2 separate regions of the Homo sapiens genome follow, and region 2 is linked to region 1. Evidence: promoter capture Hi-C in 16 types of primary human blood cells and fetal thymus (Javierre and others, 2016). All regions are on one chromosome and are shown on one strand. The core of a region is centred on a gene start or on the middle of the fragment in contact, and the rest is flanking DNA. Distances in the headings are between cores, read along the strand shown. Region 1 holds the start of NUFIP1 (nuclear FMR1 interacting protein 1). Region 2 holds the start of SERP2 (stress associated endoplasmic reticulum protein family member 2).

Evidence for each region. The method cuts DNA at HindIII sites, captures the fragments that hold promoters and counts their contacts. A CHiCAGO score of 5 or more calls a contact.
Region 2: a contact is called between the fragment with the promoter of SERP2 here and the fragment with the promoter of NUFIP1 in region 1, in 9 of 17 cell types (M1 macrophages, fetal thymus, endothelial precursors and 6 more). The highest score is 10.1, in M1 macrophages.

What each region holds. Positions count from the first base shown.
Region 1 is chr13:44,986,332-44,991,709 of GRCh38, forward strand. It overlaps NUFIP1 (nuclear FMR1 interacting protein 1), which reads right to left and starts at 3,140. Exons shown (of 10, transcript NM_012345.3): 1 at 2,694-3,140. The coding sequence starts at 3,105. GPALPP1 (GPALPP motifs containing 1) reads left to right here and starts at 3,207. Exons shown (of 8, transcript NM_018559.5): 1 at 3,207-3,411. The coding sequence starts at 3,324. RefSeq lists enhancers at 2,678-3,316, 2,941-3,010, 3,201-3,390, 3,317-3,953. The HindIII fragment of the contact is 7,208 bases long and covers 1-5,378 here.
Region 2 is chr13:44,370,773-44,376,150 of GRCh38, forward strand. It overlaps SERP2 (stress associated endoplasmic reticulum protein family member 2), which reads left to right and starts at 3,052. Exons shown (of 3, transcript NM_001010897.3): 1 at 3,052-3,337. The coding sequence starts at 3,254. LOC105370297 (a long non-coding RNA gene) reads right to left here and starts at 2,794. Exons shown (of 2, transcript XR_001749858.3): 1 at 2,625-2,794; 2 at 1-2,425. The HindIII fragment of the contact is 1,852 bases long and covers 2,308-4,159 here.

The sequences.
Region 1 (5,378 bases), core at 1,890-4,389:
AGGAATTCAAGACTTCAGTGGAGGAAGTCACCTCAGATGTAGTAGAAACTGCAAGAGAACTACAATTAGAAGTGGAGGGGCCAGGCGCAGTGGCTCACGCCTATAATCCCAACACTTTGGGAGGCTGAGGTGGGTGGATCACGAGGTCAGGCGATCGAGACCATCCTGGCTAACATGGTGAAACCCCATCTCTACTAAAAATACAAAAAAATCAGCCGGGCGTGGTGGTGGGCGCCTGTAGTCCCAGCTACTAGGGAGGCTGAGGCAGGAGAACGGCGTGAACCTGGGAGGCAGAGCTTGCAATGAGCCAAGATCGAGCCACTGCACTCCAGCCTGGGCAACAGAGCAAGACTCCATCTCAAAAAAAAAAAAAAAAAAAGAAGTGGAGCCACAAGATGTGACTTGCTGCAATCTCATGGTAAACCTTTAATGGATGAGAAGTGGCTTCTTATGGATGAGGAAAGAAAGTGCTTTTTTGAGAAGGAATCTACTCCTGGTGAAGATGCTGTGAACACTGTTGAAATGACAACAAAGGATTTATAATATTATATAAACTTAGTTGATAAAGTAGCCTCGACTTCCTGGGCTCAAGGAATCCTCCTGCCTCAGCCTCCCATGCTTCTAGGACCACAGGCATTCCACCACGCCTGGCTAATTTTATTTTTTTTGTAGAGACGGGGGTCTCACTTTGTTGCCCAGGCAGGTCTCAAACTCCTGGGCTCAAGCAATCCTCTTGCCTCTGCCTCTCAAAGTGCTAAGATTAGGCTGGGTGCAGTGGCTCACGCTTGTAATCTCAGCACTTTTCGGAGGCCAAGGAGGATGGATCACTTGAGGTCAGGAGTTCGAGATAAGCCTGGCCAACATGGTGAAACCTTGTCTCTACTAAAAATACAAAAATTAGCCAGGCATGGTGGCGGGCACCTGTAGTACCAGCTGCTCGGGAGGCTGAGGCAGGAGAATCACCTCAACCTGGGAGGTGGAGGTTGCAATGAGCCAAGATCACGCCATTGCACTCCAGCCTGAGCAACAGAGACTCTGTCTCAACAAATTAAAAAAAAAAATAAATAAAGTGCCCAGATTATAGGTGTGAGCTACCCTGCTCAGCCTAAAGTATTTTTTAATCAAGGTATGTAAGTTGTTTTTTAAGACATAATGGTATTGCACACTTACTAGACTATGGTATAATGTAAAAATAACTTTTTTGCCCCATAGGATCTGCAGGAAAACATACTTTTACATGCAACGGAAAACCAAAAAAAAAATAATTGTGTGACTTGCTTTACTGCAGTGGTCTGTAACTGAACCCACAAGAGCTCCAAGGTATCCCCAGATCTAGAATCCAACTACTTCTCACCATCCCTTGGGCTTCACCCTGGTCCAAGTCTCCAATATCTCTTGTTTAGAAAAGTAACTACAATAGCTTCCTAACCGGTTTCCCTTTCAGTCAGTTCTCACCAACAGACACATTAATCCTCTTAAAACGTAAATCAGGTCATGTCAATCCGCTGTACTACCCACCTCACAACAGTAAAAGTCAAAGTCCCACGATCTACAAAGACATACCAGGTCTTACCCTCCTCCCCCATCTTCTACAATTATACTCCAGACTCAGTCCTCTGTAGCCACACTGGTTCCCATTCTGATGTATAGCTTCTAAGCCTCAAGACCTTTGCACTTGCAGTTCCTTCTGCCCGTACCCCTATTCTCCCAGTTGTATGCATGGCTGTGATCTCTCACCTCCCTAAAGTCTTCGCTCATATGTCACCTTCCTTATGACTAACAATGACATTTAAAACTGCACTACCTGGCCCGGCGTGGTGGCTCATGCCTGTAATCCCAACACTTTGGGAGGCTGAGGCGGGCGGATGCCTGAGCTCAGGAGTTAGAGACAGGCCTGTCCAACACGGGGCAACCCCCTTTCTACTAAAAATATAAAAAATTAGCCGGGTGTGGTGGCGTGGGCCTGTAGTCCCAGCTACTCAGGAGTTTGAGGCATGAGAATTGCTTGAACTCGGGAGGCAGAGGTTGCAGTGAGCCTCTCTGCAGAGACTGCATAGGCTGGAGTGAAGTAGATCGCGCTACTCTTCACTCCAGCCTGGGCGACAGAGCGACACTCTGTCTCCAAAAAAAAAGAAAAAAAGAAAATCCTGCACTACTTACCATTCTTCTTTGTTTTATCTCTCTCCATGCCACTCAACCTTCTAATGCACAATATTTTATTTTGCTTATTGTCTGTCTTCCTACACAAGAGAGATAATATTAAGCTCCATAATATTTTTTGTATGTTCTGCTCACTGCTATATACCCAGATTCTGGTACATAGTCGGAATTCAATAAATAACTGCTAAATGGAATTAACAGTCAACAGGAAAACATTCTAGTCAGACATATTTTGAGAACAAAGGATTTACAATATTATATAAACTTAGTTGATAAAGCAGCCTCGACTTCCTGGGTTCAAGGAATCCTCCTGCCTCAGCCTCCCATGCATCTGCGACCACAGGCATGCCACCATGCCTGGCTAATTTTATTTTTTTTGTAGAGACGGGGGTCTCACTTTGCTTTGAGATGCTAATGACCAGACTCCAAGAGTGCAGAGGCAAGGCAGAGTAGAGAGAGGAAGCAGAGAAAGGGGAGAGGAAAGAACGGGGGAAAAAGGTAAAGGGGTCGACTCACGTGGAAAAATAGCCTACCTGCAGGGTTGAAGGACTTCTGATGCCGAGGAAACCTATCAGAAGACTGTCTCCAATACCACGATGTGGAAGCATGGAAATTCCAAGGCTGGCCGCTGGGTTGAGGCTGAGAATCAAGGGGAGACTGGGCGTCGAAGGGGGGTTGCGCCCCGGGAAGAATCTGGGCGTCGAAGGGGGGCGGAGCCCCGGGGAGAGACTGGGCCTCCATGGGGGGCTGCGACTCAGAGGAAGGCTTTGACCCGGCTGCGGGAAGCGAGGACGTAAGTGGTGGTGGCGGTGGCGGCAGCATTGCCCAGAACATCCAGCTGTCCCGCGGCGGGGCAGTGTCGCTCAGGGGCCCTAACGTGGGAGTCAGCTCGGGAGACGCATGCCACCCGATAGGAGTCTCGAAATCACTAGTCGGCTCAGCCATACCACTGGCGGGTCCGGAGTCTAGCACGCGACTGTGGAGCAAGCATTAGGCGTCACTTCCTTTACCGTGAACTACAAGGCTCAGCCAACCACAGGCTTTACGTCATTTCTCGGCGCCGGGAAACCTGCCATTCTTCGCTGCTGATCGCGGGATTCTTTTTGGATAGGGTTGACGTTCGTGGATAGACTCATATCTGTGACCAGTGTCCGCCACCGCGGATGGCAAGAGACCTGATCGGACCGGCCCTGCCGCCCGGCTTCAAGGCCCGCGGAACAGCGGAGGACGAAGAGCGGGACCCGAGCCCTGGTAAGCGGCGGCGTCTCCGCTGCCCACCAGGCCCATCTACCCACTCCCTGGCCGGGCCCTGCTCGCTGAAGAAAGTCGGAGGCCTAGGAGGGCGGAGGAGTGGGGAGTGGGCGCGGCCTGACCCGAGAGAACTTTTCTCTTCCCAAACAGTAGCAGGGGGGAGGAGGCTGGGGGACCCTCCTAGAAACGAGCTTTGGCGTGGTTTGGCTTCGTGATGATAATACATTCTCATTTAGCCTTAATATGAGCTGCACGCTGCCCTAACTGACTGATACCCACTCAGTCATTTAAGCCGTATAAGAAAAAAACTATTTTCCCATGTTGCAAATGGGTACGCCCAAGCCCATGCCAGTGTCTAGATCATACTGCTAGCAAGTGATGGAGCGCGACTTAGAAGGAAGCGGTTCTCTTAACCTCTGTGCCATATTGCCTTCTGATTACAAGAACCTTGCAGATCCTGTTCTCTCCAGCCCCCGACCTGCCTTCCTAGCCTCTCATTCTGTTATTGCATCTGACAAACACAGCCCAATACTCAATCCAGTCTGAGTTGCTGCGCAATTCCTTAACGCTCTAGGCTTCTGGGCTTCCTCTGGTTGCATTCCTAAACATAACTGACAAACTTCTCCCCATCCTTCAAGGCCCAACTTAAATGTCACACCAATAAAACCTTTCCAGATTCCCCGAAGCATTGTCATGCCTTTCTTTTTGCCCTCGGGTTTTTTCCTAATTACATTGCATATTTAGTACACTGTATTTGAATAATTTGTCGACATAATCTGTCTCCACCATTGCACTATGGTCTTCTACCTGAACACGCAACAGGCACTTGGTATATACGAAACGAATGCTTCTCGGATTCCGGCATGCATACCTATCTGCTTTAATGTTTATTCACATTTGTAGACTAGCACCGACACCCAGTTGGAGAAGAGTAAAGCTGAAAGAGTAACCCTGCCATTTCTGAATCTAATTTTTCTTCCTGGTCTACCCGGAGGCTATGTTTCTACTACAGGCCCCTTTCCAATATAATTTCTGTCATAACCACTTTAAAAATTATGCCTTCCAGCTGAGCGAGGTGGCACAAGCCTGTAATCTCAGCACTTTGAGAGGCTGAGACGGGGCGGATCACTTGAACTCAGGAGTTCAAGACCAGCCTGGCCAACATGTTGAAACCCCATCTCTACTAAAAATACAAAAATTAGCCGGGCGTGGTGGCGGGCGCCTGTAATCCCAGCTGCTCTGGAGGCTGAGGCAGGAGAATCGCTTGAACCCAGGAGGCGGAGGTTGCAGTGAGCCGAGAGTGCCACTGCGCTCCAGCCTGGGCGACGGAACGAGAGTTTGTCTCAATAAATAAATAAATAAAAGTAAATGTGAAAAATTATGCTTTCCTTCCTGTAGGAGATAGCTTTAAAAAAATAAAATAAGGCCAGGTGCGGTGGCTCACGCCTGTGAACCCAGCGCTTTGGGAGGCCGAGGCGGGCGGATCACGAGGTCGAGAGATCGAGACCATTCTGGCCAACATGGTGAAACCCTGTCTCTACTAAAAATACAAAAATTAGCCAGGCATGGTGGCACGTACCTGTAGTCCCAGCTACTTGGGAGGCTGAGGCAGGAGAATTGCTTGAACCTGGGAGGCGGAGGTTGCGGTGAGCCGAGATCGCGCCACTGCACTCCAGCCTGGCGACAGAGTGAGACTCTGTCTCAAAAAAAAAAAAGAAAAAGATTCTTCGTATATATTTGTTGAATGACTTCTCTTCGTCAAGCACAATATCTTACACGTAGTGTGTCATTTTAAACACATAATCTCCCCTGCTATAATTCCATTCCCTTCATAACCGCCTAGATGGCTGAACCTAAAACGGTTGCCAAAAAATCTTCATATATCATTTTTATTTCATCTATCTGGATTTTTAAGAAGTTTGCCAGTACCAATGGCCTTCACATCCACTATATCACACCATAGAAGC
Region 2 (5,378 bases), core at 1,802-4,301, 620 kb before region 1:
GATGTTTCCCCTCATACCAAGCAATTCTGCAACAGACACCGGCTGGGTGTCCTTTAATTCAATTCAATTCTGGCACTATGTACCTGGAAATAGCAGGGGCTCAGGGTTTGATCCTATGAGACCGCCCCCCATTTCAGATGCCAATCCCAGGTAGTAGGTTGTCTCCTGTACCTCTGCCTGCCCAGCTATAAACTGGAGTTCCCCCAACCCACTCCTTGTTTGGACTAATCTGCTAGAGTGGATCACAGAACTCAGTGAAACACTTTACTTCTGTTTGCTCATTTATGAGGAAGGATATTACAAAGCATATAGATGAACAGTGAGATGGAAGAGATGCACAGGGCAAGAAATGTGGGAAGGGCTGTGGCGCTTCCATATCCTCTCTGAGCACGCCACCCTCTAGGAACCTGATGTTCTGCTCTCCAGAACTCAACAAACCCTATCCTTTGGGCTTTTATACAGGCTTCATTGCATATGTCTGATTGATTACATCATTGGTCACTGGTGATCAACTTAACTTTCAGCCCCTCTCCTCTCTGTGGAGGTCTGGGGGGACAGGGTGGGACTAAAAGTCCCAACCCTCTAATCCTGCCTTGATCTTTCTGGTGACCAGTCCCCATCCTGAAGCTATCTAGGGTCTCCAAGTCACCAACCATCTCATTAGCATACAAAAGGTAAGATATTTTCATCACTCTGGAGAGTCCAAGGAATTTAAGAGTTTTAGGTCAGGAAACAGGGACTACAATCAAATATATATTTCACAATATCACACGCAGATATACCTGCACAAGTACACACTGATCTATGTACAGGGATATTCACTGAAGCATTGTTGGCAACCACAAAAAAAGAAAAACTGGAAATAATCATCCATGGTTACATCAGTTCAATATATTACTGTATAATCATACTATGAGACATAACACAACTACAAGAAAGAGGTCATATATAAGTGATATGATAATGTTGATATATTAAGTTAGAAGAGCACGTGGCAGAACAGTTTGCATACTACTATTCCGTTTTTTTTTAGAAGGGAATATACAAATAGTCTTGTATATACTGGAAGGGCAACCCAGGAACCGTGGGAACTTTTTGGGGAGGGTGGCAAGGAAAGAGAGACCTTTACTTTTCATTTTCTATCCTATTTCTGTTTGACTATTTACTGTGTAGATGTAGTCTACTCATAATTAAAACAAACTAATTTAAAATGCCGGAAAAGTGAAGCATAGCAGGAAAAAGGAGTCAACAGTAAAGAAAAATTTTCCCCAAAAGGGGCTTCTCTCAGTTAAGAACACTTCTGAACTGTACTCACTGAATGTGAAGACCCAAAGAGAAAACAGTCTCTGTCTGTGTCTTTTCCTTAATGTCGCTCAGAGCCAGACCTCTACTCACCTGGTGAGGACCTGGGTCAGTCTCCTGGTATTTGGACATGATCTGAGAGGAGTGAGTCAGGTAAAGGAACCTTCTGGACCACAGACAACAGCCAGGCTCAGCAGGGATCACTGAGGTAGGAATCCCCCCACCCAAACCCCTAAAAAAGAGCCAACAGTTATTAAAAACATGGGACTAGAGTGGGGCAGACTGGGTTTATGGTCCTGTTACAACAGTGGTGATGCTAACAGTTAAAAGACCATAGAAGCTTGTTTCAAATTAATTGGCCTGTAGAGTAGGAAAAAAAAAAAATGACTCTACTAATGATCCTAGGCAATTCTGTCTTCTAGGTTACAGCAAGCAGCCCCCAGAATGGCCTTTATTGAAGCCTGAGTGACAAGAAGCCTGTAGCGGGGTGAGGGGGACCCGCTTGGAAAAAGGCCCCAAAAGAGGAGCTCTTCCTAACTCTCCAATGACATGGGAAAATTTTACTCACACAAAATTCCCTGGAAACCCAGCCACCTCCCGCTCCAAGAGAAGGCCTAGAGATGCAGTGGCCAGAGACAGCCTCAGGCCTTCTTCCCCATGCTGGGGGTGCTGCTGCTTGCCTTCACCCCGACCCGGTATCCCCACTTCCCGCTGCCCCAGATCTCCCAGGCTGAATGTCCCCTCTTCGCCTCCACTCTTCTGAGCTTCTAAGAGCTAACTCCAAGTGAGGAACTGAACCCCTTCCACCCCTACCTCCCCAGGCAATCTGTAGAGCTCTTGAGCCCTAATACCAGTGTCTGGGAGGCGCGTAAACGCTTCCATTTTTATCCTTCCACTGCAGAAAATGCCCAGTTTAGTCTGGGAGACACTCAGACCCCTCGGGACAAGGGTGGCTAGAGAGAGGTCCAAGCTGCCCTGGGTGGGTGGGGAGTCAAGGCAGGCCAAAGCTTCAGATTTAGACAGTAACCACCAAATCCGACCTGGGCTGCAGGTCCAAGGCCTCTTCCTCTTTCCTGCATGCTCCGCTCTGCCGCTGGCCCATCTTCCAATGCAACCCCTACAACTACCAAAGCAAAAAGGCCTGTCCCAACTCCATCCTCACGGCCCGATCCCCAACCCTCAGGGGATGCCGCTTCGTGTCTCCTCTTTATTTTACAACGCGGCCCTCCTTGCAGCCCTCACGAAAAGTTCTGCAGTGGGGTCCCCCAGCGTGGGGCCCTTCTCGAGACCCTTAAAGAGAAGGCTCGTTTGGTGGACCATACCCGGGCAGCGCGGGCCCGGGCCTGGACTGGTTCTACTTGTGTTCTGAGGTCCCTGACCACCGCCTTGGGTCCAGCCCTCGTCCAGGGGGCGGCGGTGCAGGGGAGACCGCGCGGCCCGGCCTGAAGCGCGGCCGCCCTCATCCCTTCCCCGGGGCTGGGGTGGGTCACCGGCCGACAAACACAGGAGGGGCCGCGTCCCCGTCCCCGACGCGCTCACAAACGCCGTGGTCGCCCGAACCTTCGGCCCCGCAGCATTCGGCTACAGGACCGCGACACTGCAGGGCCCCGGCTCTGCGCGCTGCGCTCCGGCCGCTCGGCGCGGGAGGACGTGCGGTCGCGCCTGCCTCGGTGGCCGCGCGGGGTAGGTGGCTGCGGGGACCGGAAGGATGGCGAGGAAGTCGGAAAGGGTTTCCTGAGATGAGAGATTACTTCCGTCCGGGCTGCGGCCTCTCTCTGGAGTCGGCTAGCCGGGGCTCGGGGAGCGGGGTGCGCAGGGCTCGGGGCCACGCCTTGCCACCTGCAGCGCCCGGGTGGGCCGCGGGGGCCTCGGCGGGACGCGCTCGGCCCTGTCGCAGGAGCTAACGCAGGGGGAATCCTTGCAGGTGGGAGCATTTCAGAGCGCACAAGCCATGGTGGCCAAACAGCGGATCCGGATGGCTAACGAGAAGCACAGCAAAAACATCACCCAGAGGGGGAACGTAGCCAAAACCCTGGTAAGGCGGGGTCGGCGCCGGCCAGGCAGAGCCCTGCAGCCCGGCGGGGTGGGGCGGAAGGTGGGGGCGGGGCCGGGCGGGTAGCGGCGCAGGGTCCGGCCTCCCGGCTCCCGGCCCGCCCCTTCTGCGGGGTCCTGCAGAGTGGGGGCTGAGAGCTGGGTTCAGGGCGGCGCGGTCTGCTTGGCGTCCTCGTGGGCGGAGAGGGCCCTGGTTGGTCGTGGCCCCTCTGGGAGTGGCTACCTGGGCTACCAGGGAGGCGCAGAGGAGCCCTCCTCCCCGACCCGCACCCCCTGTCCCCCTGCCCGGGAGACAGCTGGGCCTTGTCCCGGAGAAAGACGGAAAGCCTCATCCTTAGGGGCCAGTTAAGTCAACTGCATGACACAGAGCCTGGAACCTAGTATGTTCTAGAACGTTGCATGACACAGAGCCTGGAACCTAGTATGTTCTAGAACGTTTGTTGAATGAATGAATGAATCAATGGCTAAATGGAGGCCACTTGTCATCTCCTCCCGGACTCCACCTGTCTTCCCTCCCCAACAGACTTGCACCAGGATCAAGTTTTCTTTCCAGCCCCTTTGTGACGGTTTCACTGGAGGTGTGGAAAGAGCTCAAAATGGGGAGTGAGATTTGGACCCACATTCCCTCCAGCCTCTTTTTTCTCTTTTACCTCTCTTCCAGCGAGACCTCCCTCAGCCCCTAGGCTAAAGTCTAAGGGCAGCATTCCTATTCTTTCCACTTGGTGAATTCAGACTCATTCTCATGGTATAACTTTAGAGACCAGTTTATTGTCAGGCATTCGGTGTCCCTAGAACTGTAAATTCAAGCTTTGCAACTGGACTTTTAAGTAAAACCTGTGCCTTACACTCAGGAGTTTCTTTTAGCAAAGCAGATTATCATCAACAGAAAATGCGAGGCCTGTGACTTTGGACATTCAGAGGCATGAGTCGCATGGGTAGTTTGGCGAAGTTGGTCTCCAAGTATATGAGCAAAGGCGCCTGGGATCTGTTACCCCGTACAGTTAAGTGGAAATCCAGCTGAAGCCTGGAGTTTGGCTGGGAAAGCTTGCAGATTTGATGAATCAATTCCTTTTAGCCAAAGAAACTATATTGGTTTGATTAACTAAGCAAAAAGCTAGATCTGTAATCATCACACCAGAATTCTTGCAAAACCAAGCAGTATTACGGCAGAGAAACTCTAGGACCAAACTCAACTCTACTCAGAGCTTTATACACAAGTCTAAGCATAACTCAACTCTACTCAGAGCTTTATACACAAGACCTAAGTAATCCTTAAAATTCTCTCATTTAGGAATTATATCACTCAGTTGTGATTAGGCAGCAAAATGCCAAGATGCCATCAAATTGGAACCATTTTGTCACATTGATTTATGTTTTCCCTATTTTTACTGAGGAAAAAAAAATGGCTGCCCGGGTTGACATTGAGAAGCAACTTATAATTGATGTTAAGGCATGCAGGGTTTTATATCCCTAAGAGATCAATTCTTCCTTCTCAAGGGATCAGACCTGCTAACTGACACAGTGAAAAATAACTAGTCATGTGGCTCTTTTTCATGAACTAAAAAACCGGAGTTCAGTTGTCAGATCTCAGTTGACAGCTTATCTGATTACAAAAGTAAGAAGAAAACAAGAACTAATTTCTAAGGCTGTTGTATCTATTAGGTTCTGTAGACTCAGTGTCTGCCACCTCAAGTTCTTCAAGAAAACTAGAAAATGTTTGGGACCCAAAACAAAAATTATTAGCTCCAAAATAAAAGAAGAAAATGGAAAAATTGGGAAAACATTGTTTAAATACCTAGAAAAGGTACCAGTCACCTGCCATTCAACTCAATGTTCAGAGCTACATTTAAATTATATTTAATGTACAGTATGAGTTCATTTTAATATGCTCTGATATGTCATGGGGTGGCCCCCAAGAAACTCTCATAGTGCCTTGCACCTATAAGAGTTTTTAAATGGCCCAGCTAAATTTGTAATGAAAGGTTTCCAGACCAAGCCACAATCAATGTTTGCTTTGCATTGGT